Linked DNA regions of Homo sapiens: regions 1, 2 and 4 are each linked to region 3. Evidence: promoter capture Hi-C in 16 types of primary human blood cells and fetal thymus (Javierre and others, 2016). All regions are on one chromosome and are shown on one strand. The core of a region is centred on a gene start or on the middle of the fragment in contact, and the rest is flanking DNA. Distances in the headings are between cores, read along the strand shown.

The links. The method cuts DNA at HindIII sites, captures the fragments that hold promoters and counts their contacts. A CHiCAGO score of 5 or more calls a contact.
Region 1: a contact is called between a fragment that was not itself captured here and the fragment with the promoter of ACRBP in region 3, in 10 of 17 cell types (activated CD4 T cells, naive CD4 T cells, naive B cells and 7 more). The highest score is 11.5, in activated CD4 T cells.
Region 2: a contact is called between a fragment that was not itself captured here and the fragment with the promoter of ACRBP in region 3, in 3 of 17 cell types (non-activated CD4 T cells, total CD4 T cells and activated CD4 T cells). The highest score is 8.0, in non-activated CD4 T cells.
Region 4: a contact is called between a fragment that was not itself captured here and the fragment with the promoter of ACRBP in region 3, in 3 of 17 cell types (non-activated CD4 T cells, activated CD4 T cells and naive CD8 T cells). The highest score is 6.4, in non-activated CD4 T cells.

Annotation. Positions count from the first base shown.
Region 1 is chr12:6,738,956-6,741,717 of GRCh38, forward strand. No RefSeq gene overlaps it. Among named protein-coding and RNA genes, the nearest start is that of MLF2, 13 kb to the right of the region's middle. The HindIII fragment of the contact is 1,764 bases long and covers 584-2,347 here.
Region 2 is chr12:6,519,148-6,522,139 of GRCh38, forward strand. NCAPD2 (non-SMC condensin I complex subunit D2) reads left to right here. Exons shown (of 32, transcript NM_014865.4): 14 at 1,839-1,963; 15 at 2,651-2,890. Among named protein-coding and RNA genes, the nearest start is that of GAPDH-DT, 14 kb to the right of the region's middle. The HindIII fragment of the contact is 7,418 bases long and covers 1-2,992 here.
Region 3 is chr12:6,645,988-6,648,896 of GRCh38, forward strand. It overlaps ACRBP (acrosin binding protein), which reads right to left and starts at 1,445. Exons shown (of 10, transcript NM_032489.3): 1 at 1,337-1,445; 2 at 807-1,025; 3 at 496-590. The coding sequence starts at 1,379. RefSeq lists enhancers at 866-1,379, 1,303-1,372. The HindIII fragment of the contact is 16,958 bases long and covers 1-2,909 here.
Region 4 is chr12:6,715,971-6,719,073 of GRCh38, forward strand. No RefSeq gene overlaps it. Among named protein-coding and RNA genes, the nearest start is that of COPS7A, 6.5 kb to the right of the region's middle. The HindIII fragment of the contact is 9,962 bases long and covers 1-3,103 here.

The DNA of each region.
Region 1 (2,762 bases), core at 216-2,715, 93 kb after region 3:
AAAAAAAATTAGCCGGGCGTGGTGGCGGGCGCCTGTAGTCCCAGCTACTTGGGAGGCTGAGGCAGGAGAATGGCGTGAACGCGGCAGGCGGAGCTTGCAGTGAGCCAAGATCGCGCCACTGCACTCCAGCCTGGGCGACAGGAGCGAGACTCTGTCTCAAAAAAAAAAAAAAAAAAAAAATTCGCTGGGCATGGTGGTGGGCGCCTGTAGTCCCAGCTAATCGGCAGGCTGAGGCAGGAGAATCACTTGAGCCCGGGAGGCGGAGGTTGCAGTGAGCCTAAGTTTGCAGAGAGCCGAGATCGCGCCTCTGCACTCCAGCCTGGGCGACAGAGCAAGACTCCGTTTCAAAAACAAAAAACAAAACAAAAAGCCGGGCGCGGTGGTTCAAGCCTGTAATCCCAGCACTTTGGGAGGTCGAGGCGGGCGGATCACGAGGTCAGGAGATCAAGACCATCCTGGCTAACACGGTGAAAACGCGTCTCTACTAAAAATACAAAAAAATAGCCGGGCGTGGTGGCGGGCTCCTGTAGTTCCAGCTACTCGGGAGGCTGAGGCAGGAGAATGGCGTGAACTCAGGAGGCGAAGCTTCCAGAGAGCCGAGATCACACCACTGCACTCCAGCCTGGGCGACAGAGCGAGACTCCGACTCAAAAAATGAAGAAAAAGAAAAGAAAATGATACAGAGATTTACTGGGTGAAAAAAATCTGTACATAAATTAAAATGGAATACTAAATAACATTCAAGTAAACCAATACAAGGCTGGAAAATGGAGACAGAGAAATTACAAACAGAACAAACAAAATAAATAATAAATAATAGAAATATTGCCGGGCGCGGTGGCTCACACCTGTAATCTCAGCACTTTGGGAAGCCGAGGCAGGTGGATCACGAGATCGAGACCGTCCTGGCTAACATGGTGAAACCCCATCTCTACTAAAAATACAAAAAAATTAGCCGGGCGTGGTGGCGGGCACCTGTAGTCCCAGTCACTTGGGAGGCTGAGGCAGGAGAATGGCATGAACCCGGGAGGCGGAGCTTGCAGTGGGCCGAGACCGTGCCACTGCACTGAAGCCTGGGCAACAGAGTGAGACTCTGTCTCAAAAAAAAAAAAAGAAAGAAAGAAACAAAGAAAAAAAAAGAGATAAATGCAAACATACTAATTATATTAATTTTTTATTTTTATTTATTTATTTTTTTGAGATGGAGTCTCACTCTTGTCGCCCAGGCTGGAGCGCAGTGGCGCGATCTCAGCTTGCTACAACCTCTGCCTCCCAGGTTCAAGCTATTCTCCTGCCTCAGCCTCCCGAGTAGCTGGGATTACAGGCATATGCACCAAGCCCAGCTGATTTTTGTATTTTTAGTAGAGACAGGGTTTCACCATGTTGGCCAGGACAGTCTCGAACTCCTGACCTCAGGCAATCCTCCCGCCTTGGCCTCCCAAAGTGCTGGGATTACAGGTGTGAGTCACCACACCTGGGCAATTATATTAAATTTAAATGGCCTAACTACAATTAAAAGACGGATAGGCTGGTGGTATACATCTGTAGTTCCAGCTACTTGGGAGGCTGAGTTGGGAGGATTGCTTGAGCCTGAGAAGTTAAGGCTGCAGTGAGCTGTAACTGTGCCACTGCACTGCAGCCTGGGTAACAGAGTGAGACCCTGTCTCAAAAAAAAAAAAAAAAGAAAAAAAAAAAAGACTCACTTCTTAACTCCAGCACTTTGGGAGGCTGAGGCGTGAGGATCACTTGAGCCCATGATTTTGACACTAGCCTGTGCAACACAGTGAATAGAGACCCCATCTCTATTTTAAAAAAATATCAAAATAATTTTTTTCTTTTTTTTGAGACAGAGTCTCACTCTGTTGCCAGGCTGGAGTGCAGTAGTGCGATCTCGGCTCACTGCAACCTCCGCCTCCCCGGTTCGCGCCATTCTCCTGCCTCAGCCTCCCGAGTAGCTGGGACTACAGGCGCCCATCACCACGCCTTCCTAATTTTTTTTGTATTTTTAGTGGAGATGGGGTTTCACTGTGTTAACCAGGATGGTCTCGATCTCCTGACCTCGTGATCTGCCTACCCCGGCCTCACAAAATGCTGGGATTACAGGCGTAACCACCGCGCCCGGCCAAAATAATTTTTTTAAAAGACCCAGAAATACAGTGTCTTAAAAAAGAAAACAAATACTTTTAAGTATGACATAGGTCGGTTAAAAGTAAAAAGATGGAGAAACACGTACCATGAACACTAACCAAAAGAAAGTTGAAAATGGCTGTAGTAACAGTTAACTAAACTTCAGAGCAAAGAAAATTACCAGAGATAAAGAGGGACATTGGCTGGGCTTGGTGGCTTAAGCTTGTAATCCCAGCACTTTAGGAGGCCGAGGTGGGCAGATCACGAAGTCAGGAGTTCCAGACCAGCCTGGCCAACATGGTGTAACCCCCATCAATACTAAAAATACAAAAAAATTAGCCAGGCGTGTAATCCCAGCTACTTAGAAGGCTGAGGCAGGAGGATCACTTGAACCTGGGAGGCAGAGGTTGCAGTGAGCCGAGATCATGCCACTGCACTCCAGCCTGGGTGACAGAGCGAGACTCTGTCTCAAAAAAAACAAAACAAAACAAAAAAGACATTACATAATAAGATATTTGGTTTTCCAAGTAGATACAATAATTCTAAATGTCTATGCATTTAACTAAAGCGCTTTAAAATGCACAAAGCAGGCCGGCCACTGTGGCTCACGCCTGTAATCCCAGCACTTTGGGAGG
Region 2 (2,992 bases), core at 91-2,590, 130 kb before region 3:
CCAAAGTGCTGGGATTACAGGCTTGAGCCACCGTGCCCGGCTTGGGCTGTTTTTAGAAGGCTAGAGAGTGGCTTGTTTGCCCTATGACTCCCTTATGTTACTTTAGTGTCTCTCTTTTTATTTTGCTAAAGCAAAAATAGAGACTATAGTTTTATAAGTGCATGTTCCACCAAGCATTCTAGTATTTTCTCCTGTCAATTAGAAAAGGATTGTTTGTTTTTGAGACAGAATCTCACTGTTGCCCAGGCTGGAGTACAGTAGCGCAATCACAGCTCACTGCAGCCTCTCACTGTAGCCTCAACCCTGCTGGGCTCAAGCGATCTCCCACATTAGCCTCCTGAGTAGCCTGGTTAATTTATTTATAATTTGTAGCTGGGATTACAGGTACACACCACCAGGCCTGGCCTTTGCCAGCCTGGGCAACGTGGCAAGAAGATAACATGTAGACAAGCAGTCAAACATGTATTCTTTTTTTCCCCCTTTTATATGACTGATAGAATTCTCTGCCCACTGATCTACCATCTTGTTTTTTTCACTTAACTATGTGTCTCAGTGGTTTTTAAAAATATTTATGGCTGGGTGCAATGGCTCATGCCTGTAATCCCAGCTACTTGGGAGGCTGAGGCAGGAGAATTGCTTGAACCCAGGAAGCAGAGGTTGCAGTGAGCTGAGATTGCTCCGCTACACTCTACCCTGGGTGACAGAGGAAGAGTCCATCTCAAAAAAAAAAAAAAATTTATAGATGGCCAGGTGCAGTGGCTCACACCTGTAATCCCAGCACCTTGGGAGCCCAAAGCTGGTGGATCTCTTGAGGCCAGGAGTTTGAGGCCAGCCTGGCCAACGTGGCGAAATGGCGAAACCCATCTCTGCTAAAATTACAAAAATTGGCCAGGTATGGTGGCACGTACCTGTAATCCTAGCTATTTGGGGAGCTGAGGCATGAGAATCACTCAAACCTAGGAAGCAGAGGTTATAGTGAGCCAAGATCATGCCACTACACTTCAGCCTGGGTGACAGAACAAGACTCTGTCTCTAAAAAAAAAAATATATATATATATATACACATATATATTTATACATAAATAGTTTCCCACTCTCCTCTTTTTTTGAGAGAGAGAGTGTCTCACTCTTTTGCCCATGCTGGAGTACAGTGGTATGATCACAACTCACTGCAGCTTTGATCTCCCAGGCTCAAGTGATCCTCCCACCTCAGCTCCCTCGAGTAGCTGAGACCACAGGCACACACCATTACACCCACAGGCACACACCATCACACCCACAGGCACACACCATCACACCCACAGGCATACACCATCACACCCACAGGCACACACCATCACACCCGGCTAACTTTTTTTACTTTTTGTATAGTTGGGTCTCCCTGTGTTGCCCAGACTGATCTCAAATTCCTGGGCTCACGTGTCCCCATTATTTTTTATGACTACATAGAATCTTATTGTCTGGATGTGCCTGAATTAACTAATTATTGAAAGTTTATTGTTTCTAAACTTAGGAAAGTTTTTAAACAGGTGTTTGGAGTAGGTTTATGATTTTAAAACTTTAAAAAGCCTTATTGGAGTTTTTTTGAAGACTGTAGTAATGCCTTGTAGGTTCAGAAATAGGAAAAGTGTTTGCAGATGAGCAGTCAGGGGAAAAAAATAGGCAAAGTGTTTTGAGCCCTACCCCTTAGTAGGTGCTGTAACAACTTTTTAAGCATGTTAAGTGCTCCTTTTCTCTGGGCAGTAGGTCCAGGGACTTGATAGAATCATGAGGTAAGCTCCCTTACAAACGGCTGCAGTGACATTCTTCTGGGTACTGACAGGCTGGTGTTCTTTCAGAAAGGCCATCATTCTCACTCGAGAAGCCACAGGCCACTTCCAGGAGTCCGAACCCTTCAGTCATATAGACCCAGAGGAGTCAGAGGAGACCAGGCTCTTGAATATCTTAGGACTTATCTTCAAAGGTAATCATTTTCCTTCTTCAGTCAATAAATAACACATGTCAACTGGTATTTACTGAGCATTAACTTTATGCCATCATTGGCCTGGTTAACAGAACCTGGTGCTGAAGAGCCCAGAGATGAATTGGCATTACTTTTGCTCTGGAATGGAAGCAGCCCACGGGCCTAAGATTGATAGTCACAGGGTGACTGTCCAGACCATAGCGGTCTTTAGGTATGGTTTTTGAGAAATTTAGATATTTTAGAGTAAGTTTTAATTTCATATCTTCACATTGTGAAAAGAGATATCCAGGGCCAGATGTCGTGGCTTATGCCTGTAATCCTAACACTTTGGGAGGCCAAGGCAGGAGGATTGCTTGAGCCCAGGAGTTGAAAATCAGCCTGAGCAACATGACGAAACCCCCATCTCTACAAGGGATACCAAAAAAAAATTAGCCAGGTGCGGTGGCACGCACCTGTAGTCCCAACTGCTCAGGAGCTGAAGTGAGAGAATCACCTTAGCCCGGGGAAGTTGAGGCTGCAGTGAGCGGTGATCATTGCCACTGCACAGCCTAGGCAACAGAGTGAGACCCCATCTCAAAAGAAAAGAAGAAGGAAAATAAATAAGTAAATATCCAGGAATGTTGACAGCTGTTGGATTCCCCTGTATCCCCTTGAACGAAACCATCCTGTACTTCTCTAACTCCTTAGGCCCAGCAGCTTCCACACAAGAAAAGAATCCCCGGGAGTCTACAGGAAACATGGTCACAGGACAGACTGTCTGTAAAAATAAACCCAATATGTCGGATCCTGAGGAATCCAGGGGAAATGATGAACTAGTGAAGCAGGAGATGCTGGTACAGTATCTGCAGGATGCCTACAGCTTCTCCCGGAAGATTACAGAGGCCATTGGCATCATCAGCAAGATGATGTATGAAAACACAACTACAGGTATGCCAGAGTCCCTTTCTATAAGGACAGCCTTGGGGTTCTTTTGGATTTTTTAATTTTTTAAATTTTTATTAACAATAGAGATGGGGCCTTCCTTTGTTG
Region 3 (2,909 bases), core at 195-2,694:
CTTGCTCTGCCACTCAGGATAGGGTGCAGTGGCATGATCTCGGCTTACTGCAACCTTTGCCTCCCGGGTTCAAGCAATTCTCCTGCCTCAGCCTCCCGAGTAGCTGGGATTACAGGCGCCCATCACCAAGCCCGGCTATTTTTTTTTTTTTTTTTTGTATTTTTAGTAGAAACGGGGTTTCACCATGTTGGCCAGGCTGGTCTCGAACTCCTGACTTCAGGTGATCTGCCCATCTCGGGCTCCCAAAGTGCTGAGATTACAGGCATGAGCCACCATGCCCAGTCTCTTCTCTACTTTTCTTGCAGTAACAGAATTGTTCAATCTGAATATCCAAGGTGAGACTGTATTCATATATAATCTGGGTAAATGACTGGCAAAATGGCAGGGAAGGAGGAGCTAAGGATGACTCTCCTGGAACCCTTCCTCAACTCCCCACTGCTGCCGCCTCTCCCTTGGCCCTGGGGCACCAAATCCAACCTTTGTCCTGGGCCTCACCTTGGCATAGTAGACGTGGTTGGAGCAACGGTAGTGAGTGAACTGGCAGAAAGACTCAAACCAGGAGGCATAAGGGAGGTTGGAGCAGACAGCACCTGAGAAAGGGCAGGGGTGGAGAAGATGAACCCGTGGGGAGCTTGGGGTGGGGCTGTGGGCAATGGACTCCACGCCATGGGGAGGGTGGAGAGTACGAGCTCATGGTGTGGTGCCAGCCATGCCCTTCCCCGCCTCACATGAGCACAGGGGTTTTTGCCCTGAGGTTTGGGTGAACACTCTGGGTGCCTCGGTTTCCCCCCTAGTCTGGCCCTCACCATCGGGCACTAAGCCGTGGTTTTCATATTGGTCCAGCTGGACGAGTGTGGGATTCCGGCAGCCGTGGGTTGCACGGAGACGGCAGGTAGTCTCTGCCTTCCAGGTTGGAGTCAGCAGTGCGAAGAAGCGTTCGTATTCGGTAGGAGAGAGAGGGCTGCCTGGAGTGGAGGCCTGAGTCGAATCCTGGGCTGCGGCAGGTGCCAGAGGCAGGAGCAGCACTGCGGAGCGGGCGAACGGATGATGGAAGGACCGAACCCCAAAACCCGCTCCGAGACCAGGACAGACAGACCCAGACTGGCAAATTAGGAACGGGGTGAGGGTTATCCCTGCTGACCAGGGCGGGGGGAGTCTAGAGACAGAGGCAAAGGTCCGGCCGCGGGCGGGGGGAGATGGGAGTATCCCAGGACCTAGGGAGCCGACCCAGCGCGACCACCATGAGGAAGCGATCCAGAAACCGTAAAAGCAGAGCTCTCGGGAGGGAGAGGACTAGCCCGGGGAGAGTCTGTTGGAGCAGGTGTAAACCTCTCACCCTTCAGGAGTGAGGGAAGGAAGCCAGCGGCTGGCTTCCTCATGGCCGGAGAAGATCCGCCCGCGTCCCGTGGACACAAGCCGCCTCTAACGGGCCAAGCCGCAGAGAGAGCCGCAGGCGCGGGGCGGGGCGCACGCGGGCACCGCCCACGCGTCACAAAGAGCGGGCCGGGGCGGGGCCTCGACAGCCGGGCTCTCAGGGCCCTAAAGTGGCCAGAGCCCATCCAGATGGTAGGAATGGCAAACAGCTACCTTCACTTAGCGTCTTTTTCTTTTTTTTTTGAGACGGAGTCCTACTCTGTCGCCCAGGCTGGAGTGCAGTGGTGCGATCTCGGCTCACTACAACCTCGGCGTCCCAGGTTCAAGTGATTCTCCTGCCTCAGCCTCCCGAGTAGCTGGGACTATAGGTGCACGCCACCACGCCCAGCTAATTTTTGTATTTTTAGTAGAGATGGTATTTCACCATGCTGGCCAGATGGTCTCGATCTCTTGACCTTGTGATCCGCCCACCTCGGCCTCCCAAAGTGCTGGGATTACAGGCGTGAGCCACCATGCCCGGCCTAATTTTTGTATTTTTAGTAGAGACTGGGTTTCACCATGTTGGCCAGGCTGGTCTTGAACTCCTGACTTCAAATGATCTGCCCACCTCGGCCTCCCAAAGTGCTGGGATTACAGGTGTGAGCCACCGTAGCCAGCCACTTAGCATCTTTACATGCACTACCTTACGTAATTGCCATAGGAATCCCATAAGGTAGATACACTATCATTCGTTTTACAGATGAGAAATCGGGGCTTAGGGAAGCAACTCGCCCAACAAACAGGTCGTGAGGTCTAGAGCTAAGCGCAGGCAGAGATAGAATGTGCAAAACCAAGTCAAGGCCTATCTGGGTAGGAACTAGACAGGGCGCCTCCATGAGCAAAATGGGTCCAAGGGGAAAACAAGAGGGTGGCTCAGTGGTCTACGAAAGTGGTTTCCAAGGGAGAATCGAGTAAGACAGTCCACTGAGGTATGGGAGGAGAACTTTTGCTTTTGTATCTGTTTTGTGTTTAAAATGAGAAATTCCAGCCTGGGCAACAGGGCGAAACCTCGTCTCTACAAAAAGTACAAAAAATTAGCCAAGCGTGGTGGCACGTGCCTGTAGTCCCAGTTTCTTGGGGGGCTGAGATGGGAGGATCGCTTGAGCCCATGAGGCCAAGGCTGCAGTGAGGTGCAATCGGGCCACTGCTCTCCAGCCTGGGTGACAAAGTGAGACCCTGTCCCCACCCAAAAGCAAAAGTAAAAAAGAAAAATAAAACAAGAAATTGTCTTGGGCCAGACTTGGTGGCTCACGCCTGTAATCCCAGCATTTGGGAAGTCAAGGCGGGTGGATTCCTTGAGCCCAGGAGTTCCAGACCAGCCTGGGCAACATGGCGAAACCCTGTCTCTACAAAAAATACAAAAATTGTCAGGTGTGGTGGTGTGCGCCTGTTGTCCCACTTACTACTTGGGGAGGCTGAGGTAGGAGGATCACCTGAGTCTTCAGAGGTCAAGGCTGCAGTGAGCTGAGATCTCACCACTGTGCTCCAGCCTGGGT
Region 4 (3,103 bases), core at 221-2,720, 70 kb after region 3:
GGGAGCCCCTTTCTGGGCTGGCCAAGGCTGGAGCCCACTCCCTCAGCTTGCAGGGAGGTGTGGAGGGAGAGGCATGAGCGGGAACCGGGGCTGCGTGGGGCGCTTGCGGGCCAGCTGGAGTTCCGGGTGGGTGTGGGCTTGGTGCGCCCTGCACTCGGAGGAGCCGGCCAGCCCTGCCAGCCCCGGGCAATGGGGGACTTAGCACCCGGGCCAGTGGCTGCGGAGGGTGTACTGAGTCCCCCAGCAGTGCTAGCCCACCGGCGCTGCGCTCGATTTCTCGCCGGGCCTTAGCTGCCTTCCCGCGGGGCAGGGCTCGGGACCTGCAGCCCGCCATGCCTGAGCCTCCCACCCCCTCCATGGGCTCCTGTGCAGCCCGAGCCTCCCCGACGAGCGCCGCCCCCTGTCCACGGCGCCCAGTCCCATCGACCACCCAAGGGCTGAGGAATGCGAGCGCACAGCGCGGGACTGGCAGGCAGCTCCACCTGCAGTCTCGGTGCGGGATCCACTAGGTGAAGCCAGCTGGGCTCCTGAGTCTGGTGGGGACGTGGAGAGTCTTTATATCTAGCTCAGGGATTGTAAATACACCAATCAGCACCCTGTGTTTAGCTCAAGGTTTGTGAATGCACCAATCGACACTCTGTATCTAGCTGCTCTGGTGAGGACGTGAAGAACTTTTATGTCTAGCTCAGGGATTGTAAATACACCAATCGGCACTCTATCTAGCTCAAGGTTTGTAAACACACCAATCAGCACCCTGTGTTTAACTCAAGGTTTGTGAATGCACCAATCAACACTCTGTATCTAGCTGCTCTGGTGGGGCCTTGGAGAACCTGTGTGTGGAAACTCTGTATCTAACTAATCTGATGGGGACGTGGAGAACCTTTGTATCTAGCTCAGGGATTGTAAACGCACCAATCAGCGCCCTGACAAAACAGGCCACTCGGCTCTACCAATCAGCAGGATGTGGGTGGGGCCAGATAAGAGAATAAAAGCAGGCTGCCCCAGCCAGCATTAGTAACCTGCTCTAGTCTCCTTACACGGTGGGGAATCTTTGTTTTTTTACTTTTTGCGATAAATCTTGCTATTGCTCACTTTTTGAGTCCATGGTGCTTTTATGAGCTGGAATACTCTCCGGGAAGATCTGCAGCTTCGTTCCTGAGCCAGCGAGACCATGAACCCACCAGAAGGAAAAAACTCCAAAGGCATCTGAACATCAGAAGGGACAGACTCCAGAGACACCACCTTAAGAGCTATAACACTCACCACGAGGGTCTGCTACTTTACTCTTGAAGTCAGTGAGACCAAGAACCCACCAATTCTGGACACACCACCACACCTGGCTAATTTTTTTTTTTTTCTTTGAGACGGAGTTTTGCTCTTGTTGCCTAGGCTGGATTGCAATGGTGTGATCTCAGTTCACTGCAGCCTTGTCTTTCTGGGTTCAAGGAATTCTTCCTCAGTCTCCCAAGTAGCTGGATTACAGGTGTGTGCCACCATGCCAGGCTAAGTTTTTGTATTTTTAGTAGAGACAGGGTTTTGCCATGTTGGCCAGCCTGGTCTGGAACCCCTGACCTCAGGTGATCCACCCGTCTTGGCCTCCCAAAGTGTTGGGATTATAGGTGTGAGCCACCACGCCCAGCCATTTTTACGTTTTTAGTGGAGATAGGGGGGTTTCATAATATTGGTTAGGCTGGTCTCAAACTCTTGACCTCGTGATCAGGAGTGATCATGCACCACCATGCCTGGCTAATTTTATATTTTTAGTAGAGATGGAGTTTCAACATGCTGGTCAGGCTGGTCTCGAACTCCTGATGGGTGATCCCCCTGCCTTGGCCTCCCAAAGTGCTGGGATTACAAGTGTGAGCCACTGTGCTGGGCAATTTTCCTTTCATTCTTTTTCTTTCCTTTTTTTTTTTTTTTTTTTTTTTTTTTGAGACAGGGTCTTGCTGTGTTGCCCAGGCTGATCTTGAATTGCTAGCTTGAGTGGTCCTCCCACCTCAGCCTCCTGATTAGATGGGACTAAAATTTCCCTTTACATTATTGCCCTTTGCTGATTTTGTTATCAAGGTGATTCTGGCCCCATAGAATAAGTTAAGGGGTGCTCTCTCTTCCTATTTTCTGCAATAGTGTGTATAAAATTAATATGATCTGTACTTTGAAAGTTTGGTGCTACTTGCCTTGATGATGTCATTTTTTTAAAATAAAAAATGTTTTGGCAGGCCTCAGTGGTTCACGCCTCTAATCCCAGCACTTTGGAAGGCAGAGGCAGGTGGATCACCTGTCAGGAGTTCCAGACCAGCCTGACCAACATGTTGAAACCCTGTCTCTACTAAAAATACAAAATTAGCCAGGCATGGTGGTACATGCCTGTAATCCCAGCTAGGGAGGCTGAGGCAGGAGACTCACTTGAACCTGGGAGGCAGAGGTTGCAGTGAGCCGAGATCGTGCCCTTTTACTCCAGCCTGGCCAATAAGGGTGAAACTCCATCTCAAAAAAAAAAAAAAAAATTTCTGGCCAGGCATGGTGGCTCACACCTATAATCCCAGCACTTTGGGAGGCCGAGGTGGGTGGATCACCTGAGGTCAGGAGTTTGAGACTAGCCTGACCAACACAGCAAAACCCCGTCTCTACTAAAAATACAAAAATTAGCTGGGGGTGATGGTGGGTGCCTGTAATCCCAGCTACTGGGGGGGCTGAGGCAGGAGGATTGCTTCAACCTGGGAGGCGGAGGTTGCAGTGAGCCGAGATCGTGCCACTGCACTCCAGCCCGGGCAACAGAGTGAGACTCCGTCTCAAAAAAAAAAAAAAAAAAAAATTTCCAGCCAGGCTTGGTGGCTCACGCCTGTAATCCCAGCACTTTGGGAGGCCGAGGTGGGTGGATCACAGGGTCAGGAGTTCGAGACCAGCCTGGCCAATATGGTAAAACCACGTCTCTACTAAAAATACAAAAAAAATTAGCCAGGCATGGTGGCGGGCAACTGTAGTCTCAGCTACTCTGGAGGCTGAGGCAGAAGAATGGTGTGAACCCAGGAGACGGAGCTTGCAGTGAGCCAAGATCGCGCCACTGCACTCCAGCCTGGGCGACAGAGCGAGACTCCGTCTC